2 separate regions of the Homo sapiens genome follow, and region 2 is linked to region 1. The links are contacts of gene promoters, found by promoter capture Hi-C in blood cells and fetal thymus (Javierre and others, 2016). All regions are on one chromosome and are shown on one strand. Each heading gives the region's core, a stretch centred on a gene start or on the middle of the fragment in contact. The rest is flanking DNA. Distances are from core to core; before and after follow the strand shown. Region 1 holds the start of CLGN (calmegin). Region 2 overlaps RNF150 (ring finger protein 150).

The links. The method cuts DNA at HindIII sites, captures the fragments that hold promoters and counts their contacts. A CHiCAGO score of 5 or more calls a contact.
Region 2: a fragment that was not itself captured here is called in contact with the fragment with the promoter of CLGN in region 1 in 1 of 17 cell types (M1 macrophages); the score reaches 5.7 in M1 macrophages.

What each region holds. Positions count from the first base shown.
Region 1 is chr4:140,426,124-140,429,471 of GRCh38, reverse strand. It overlaps CLGN (calmegin), which reads left to right and starts at 1,824. Exons shown (of 15, transcript NM_004362.3): 1 at 1,824-1,935. RefSeq lists an enhancer at 2,618-2,667. The HindIII fragment of the contact is 13,619 bases long and covers 1-3,348 here.
Region 2 is chr4:140,888,672-140,892,019 of GRCh38, reverse strand. All of the region lies in intron 6 of RNF150 (ring finger protein 150), which reads left to right. Among named protein-coding and RNA genes, the nearest start is that of TBC1D9, 130 kb to the right of the region's middle. The HindIII fragment of the contact is 257 bases long and covers 1,556-1,812 here.

The DNA.
Region 1 (3,348 bases), core at 575-3,074:
ACGACTCTACCATTCAGCATTACATTCTGGGACTCCTCCGCTTGTATTATTAAACACTACATCACTCTCAAAAGCCATACCCCTTGTCTTATTTGCAGATTATTCTTTCTCCTCTGACATTATCACATTGTATTATTCTGATGAAAAGTTGCCTATTAAACAAATTATAAATATTATATTCAATCATCCTTTCAATAAGTGGCAAATAATTTTGGAGATATGTTAAGGCCTTAAATTTCAAGGTTAGAGATTAGATTTCATGCTGTGGGTAATGAAGGGTCATTGGAAACTATTGAATGAGCTGAGGATTAAACTACGAAGTGTAGGTGGGAGGCTCTGAAGGGGGGCAACTAGTTAGGTAACTCTGAACAACAGTTTCTAAAGTAGTGAGAATCTAAACTAGAGAAATGGCACAGGGACTGGAGGGGGTGAGGACCTCTTTTAGATGATTTTATGGAGTTAGAGTTTAATTTATGGAGGCAGTGAATGTAGCAGCCAAAGAGTAAAAAAATGTTCTCAAGGTTTTGAGTACTATGTGACCAAGAAGATACTACTAAATCTTGCAAAAATTCACTATTCTTACATTTTTAGTTTTCAGCTTCCTCACTGCAAACTTTGAATGGATCCTTTAAAAAATCCCTCTCTAGCAGTTCAAGTGTATTTGTTATGGGCCACAGAAGTATGTTGAATAATAGAAGTCAGAAGGACGGAAGAAAGAAATAAAGGGTATAATATTGTTACAAAGTATCTCAAACAAAATGTCTTTTTAACCAGTAAATTTTAACACTATCCAAACACTCTCCCAGAGATGACAAAGTCAAAAGTTTAGAAATGCTGGTCTTAATTAGTGAAGCAATGTGAAAAAACTCAGTGATCTTGACCCCTAGCCAATAATGATACGTTGTGCACGGAATGCCACCAAACCCTTAAGATTGAAACTCTTCAACAAGGGTCTTAGACTCACAAGTCAATTAAATGTTGTTAATTAATCTTCCAATAAAATTAAATTGTTATACCAAATTCAAAGTCAAGATTTACTATAAAATATTAAGTAGTAAAATTAATATTGATCCAATATATAAAAGGCAAAGCAGCTTGTGATTGCATAATCATAGCATAAACTACGTTTATGCTAAGATTTATTTCAATGTGTTTGAAACTACAGGCTCTGAGAGAGACAGGCCTGATTTACATCCCGTTTCCACTGTTTACATGTTGTGTAACTTCGAGCAAGTTGCCATCAGTTTCATCACCTGGGTTGCCACGAAGGTTAAACAATGAATGTAAGCCCCTTAGAGCACAATGAACACAATAAATGTTAGCAGCTCTTATTAATAGTGTTGTTCGAGAGAAAAAGAACATATTGTTTTATATACAATGTATTTATTAACACTTAACGCATCTGTATTTGTCATATACACACACCAGACAGGAAAGCTCCTTATTAATCACCATGACTGCAGATCTGTTAACATCTAGAACTCTGGAGAAAACCTAGAGCCCTAATCTTGCTGCACTTATTACTGGACGTTGTTCATAAATATGATTTACATAAAATTCAGGACCCAATCATTGCGCAACAGGAGGTAGCACGGTCTGCAGAGAGGGCGGGAGCTCAGAGGAGGAAAAGTCTTCGGACTTGCAGGGGGAATTCCTCCTGGGCTAACCCGGGAGCGGGGTCCAGGCCACAACCGGCCGGCGGCGGCACAGGCTCCATGTGCGGCTCCCCCTGGAGGCGGTTGAGCCCCTCGGAGCAGGAGCGCGTAGCACACACCTCGGGCCGCCACCGCCTCCCGCCCGCCACCGCACGCGCACGCGCGGTTAGTAGTCGCTGCTGCGCGGCCGCCGGCGGGACTGGTCTGAAGAGACGCGGGGACCAAGTGGCAACGACTTGGACATCTGAGCTGTCACTGCCGAAAACAGGCCGCAAGAGAGGTGCGTGAGCAGCAGGCCGCGTTCCCGCTGTCCCGCTGCCCTTTGCGCGCAGATTGGGGTGAGGAAGCGGAGTCGTTGCTGCTTCCCCCAGGCACCCCGTTACTTTGCCGCCAGAGGGCTGAACCGGTCGGGGCCAAGTGAGGGTGGATGTTGAGTCTGGCGATGGGGCTGCAGCGAGCTAGGGTCTTGACTGGGCTCTGGCGGCCCCGTGGGTGGACGCAGGAGGTGGTGCCACCTGGGACCCTTTGTGTCTTCAGCACCGCCGCATCCACCTGCTGCGCCCGGGCTGGGGCGGACGAGCACGGGGACAGCTAGGTGCCTAGCCCGGCCGGCCTCCCCTGCGGGCTTGAGGAGCCACCGGGAGCCGAGGCCGTTATTCCAGCGGTTGCCATTGCAGCCCCGTTCCACGCTTGAGCCCGGGGCGCTCTCCCAATGGTTGTAGAGGGGGCCCGGGGCGCGTCTGGGCGCTGCTCACTCTGCTGACTGCTCCTTACAGAAACCCAAACGAGATCAAAATAGGCTCGGCTGTCTCAGTCTCCACCTATGTGGAAGCGAAGGGACCCCACTTCACGGCGGTGGGGCCAGGGACTGTTGGCCGCTCCCTCGATACCCGCGCAGAGCCCATTGTGCGCCGCCGGGGGGCGGGCGAAAGGGCTGGGTTGAATCCAGAGAGGCCCTAATTACTAGACTCATTATCGCCCCAGGCCTGTTTACCATCAATCAGACACTTTCGCTGATTTTATTTATAGCATCTGCCCAAGCAACAAAGAGGAGGTGTTTGCTTGGGAGTTAAAAGCAAATGGCAACCAAAGCTCAGGACTGGGAGAGAAAAGGTAAATAACGTGGCCACAGGAAGAAGTCTCAAATTAGAAAAGAGTTCATTAACGTATAAACTTTTTGTTGCTTAAAAGCAGGCAAAATCCCGATCTCATCTGATGATTTTGCTTGTTTTACAAATGTCGACATCACTCGAGGTAGCCCTCCTTTGGGTCATTGTAAGTTTGACCTGTTTTCAGTTTGGAGTTTTGCCTTCACGTCTTATTGGTTTGATCTTCCAGTAACATTTAGATCTCATCTCCAAATCCTCAGAACAAGATATTCTGTACTCTCTGTCTTAGCTAGTTGATAAGGTTAATTATTGTGTGTAAATGATGTAAGTATGTTGATGCATTTGTCTAGAAATTGAAGTGTTGTAAGTTAGCTGTAGTACTTTTTAAGTACCTAATAAATACTGGTGTTTTTAAATAGAAAACTAGAATTATGAACTTTAAAGAATCTTTGGATTGTCTAGTTCACGTCACAAATGAGAAAACAGGCCCACAGCAGTTTTTATCACTTGTCTTTTTAATAATAAAACTAGAAACTTGGTGCGATTGTGCCATGTTGGGTGTACTTTTTATTATATCATTCTAC
Region 2 (3,348 bases), core at 435-2,934, 460 kb before region 1:
GAACCAGTTGCTTGGAAGAGAATTTTTCCACAAGAGAGGTGGTTGGGGGGACGGTGGTGCTTTCGGGATGAAACTGTTCCACCTCAGATCATCAGGCATTAGTTAGATTCTCACAAGGAATGCACAGCCTAGATCCCTCATATGCACAGTTCACAATAGGGTTCCTGCTCCTATGAGAATCAAATGCTCTGCTGACAGGAGGCGGAGTTCAGGCAGTAATGCTCACTCACCCTCCACCCACCTCCTGCTGTGTGGCCCAGATCCTAACAGACCATGGACTGGTACCAGTCGGTGGCCCAGGTTTAAAATATACAAAAGGATGTGCATAGATTATATGCAGATTCTACACCATTTTATATAAGGAACTTGGGCATCCTCAGATTTTGATAGGGGGCAGTGTCCTGGTACCAATCCCCCACGAATACTGGATACGGAAGGACAACTGTGCTAAATGCTAAAGGAGGGGGAGGAATGGAGGAGTTTGGAAAGAACTGTCTCAGCTGGGCTTGTTGCAGTTATTATTGTCAATTTTCTCATCACCACTATCATTTTCCACCACTGTCCAGCCTTCCCAGTTCCTCCCACAGTGGTCCTTGGGGTGCTCTGTGGACCTGTATGACTTCATGGAGCACCGTGAAACCTACTGGAGCAAGAACAGAAGAGCTAGGTTCAAGTCCTAGTTCTGCCACTTACTACTGGCTCTTTCTGAGACTTTGAGAGAACTATAGCCTTTCTGAAAGTTAGGTAGCCTGCTGTAAAATGGGCTCAAATGTGTTCAAGAACATTGGAAACTAAATCAAATATAATGGATGGTGATGATGGTGATAAAATTATAATAGCCACTGTTATAAAAAAAAGTGTGTTAGAACAATTCTTGGCCAAATCTATCATTTTCTACCAGTGCTATTCCTACTCACACATCCCACCTTCATTGCCACCTGCCATGAGCATGGAATATAATAATAGGTGCAGACAGGTGACTAGCTATCATTATAGTTAACCTTTAGTGAGATCAGTGATTTAAAATGGTACTTTACACCTCTTCATTTCTCTTATTAATTTGACACTTATTTTCTGGAAAGCCAAAACAAGTGGTAGCATCTGGAAGCTGCATTAAACTCCTCAAAAGGTCCCTTCCTAGGAGAAGCAAGTGATTTTGTATTCTTAGCTCTGAAAAGAAGGCAGGGAAAAGGAAACTAACATTTTTGGAGAACTTGCTAAAAGATACATTGTATTAGTCTATCAGGCTGCTATCATCAAATAACATAGACCTGGTGGCTTAAAGAACAGACATTTATTTCTCACAGTTCGGGAGTCTGGGAAGTCCAAGATCAGGATGGCTGCATGGTTGACTTCTAGTGAGATACCTCTTCCTGGCTTGAAGATGGCTGCTGTCTCTCTGTGTCCTCAGTGGTGAGATGAGAGAGTGAACTCCAGTCTTTTTCTTATAAGAACACTAATCCTATCATGGGCACCCCAACCTCATAACCACATCTAAACCTAATTACCTCCCCAAACCCCCACCTTCTAATATCATTATATTGGGGTTTAAGCTTTCAACATATGAATTTGGGGGAACAGAAACATTTAGCACACAACACATGTACAGGGAAAAATTGTTATAATAGTGAAAAATATTGTAAATAACCTAAAGGTTTCTCTGTTGGGGAAAGGACGAATAAACTATAGCATATTCTTAGATGGACTAGTTTTTTTTGTAGCAGTTAACAAGAATTAAATACATAACGAATTAAATCTGAAAACAAGATAAGGAAAAATAAGTAAATTGCAGGATAACACAAATAGCAAGCTTTCTTTCGTATAAAAAATGCTAACACAAAACATTATGTAACTTGTACATTGATTTTTTTGTTACCTGCACACATACACACACACTGATTTGCATGAAAGATACTGGAAGAATTCATATCAAATCAGAGTGGTGGTTGCTGTGTTGGGGATATGAAACTAGTGGTGAGACACAAAAGGAGCTAATGTGGGGGTTTTTATTTGTTTTTTGTTTTGCCTTAATTAAAAAGGCAGGCTTAAATGAAACATCATTCATTCAATAAAAATTTATTCAGAGCCTAGTAAAATTCAGATCCTCCTTTCTATGCTGGGGAATCTTGGGGCAATGCAGGCAGTTCCTGACTTCATGGAGATTACATCCTATTGAATAAGATAAGAAATATAGAATATAATGTCAGGATTCAATTATCAAAAATAAAATGAAAATGAGGCCAAGTAAGGAGTTAGAGAATGACCAGGGACTATTAATTAGGGCAGGCAATCAAGGAGGGCTTATCTGAGAAAGTGACATTGGACAGAGACCTAAATATCATTAAGCATTGACACTTAGTGATGGAGACACCGCAGTTTGGTTTACTATATTATTCCCTGTACCTTTGTAGCATTTAAAAATCTCTCTTTCCGCCCACCAAAAAAAATTCTGCTTCAGAGTAGCATGAGATTTTTAAAGAGGTACCAAACCCAGATGAAGCATTTAGGGATTGCAAACTTTTGAATCAATGATTGGGGTTAGGAGGAATGTGTATAGAAAAACATCACATAAAGTAATGACTTGGTTTTATAAGTGGGAAACAAAAAATGCAAATTATTTTTTAAAATACCAACTCCAGAATTCAACAAAATCTTCCTGATAGGTAAGGATTCAGGAAAAATCACAGTACTTCTGAAAGGTGTGAGAATAGAGGTGTCAAACCTTCACCAGGAGGGATAAGATTTTTAATTTTATCAAAAGGGAATGTGACTCTTTTAAAAAGAAGTTTGAGAATCTGCTCCAGAAGGGAAAATAAATCGTTTAAATGAATTGTTTAAGCCAGGCACAGTGGCTCATGTCTGTAATCCCAGCACTTCGAGAGGCTGAGGCAGGAGGATTGCTTGAGCCCAGGAGTTTCAGACCACCCTGGGCAACACAGCAAGACCCCATCTCTATTTTTTCATTTAAAAAAAAAAACAAACTGTTTAAAGAGTTAGAAGACCCAATCTCAGCACTGACATAGTAAATATTATCCCATTCAACCAACATGAGATGCTGGGTTTCTTATCTATCTCCTTCGTATGAAGTGAATGGGATGGGTTAATATAATCATGAACAACTAAATAGCTTCAACTTTATCATGATCACCAATAGCCTACTTTTTATTAAGGATTTCTTTGAGCCAGAAATAGGGATGAATGCTTTATATTCATTATCTTATTTGGTTGAGAGAATTATTGAGTAAATAATCTCTAAGTCTCTTTCAGCTTTATCAGCCTAGTAAGGAAACAAGAAGAAAGCACAAGAGACTGCTACATGAGCTGTGGTTTCCATCTGCAGGGGCAAAA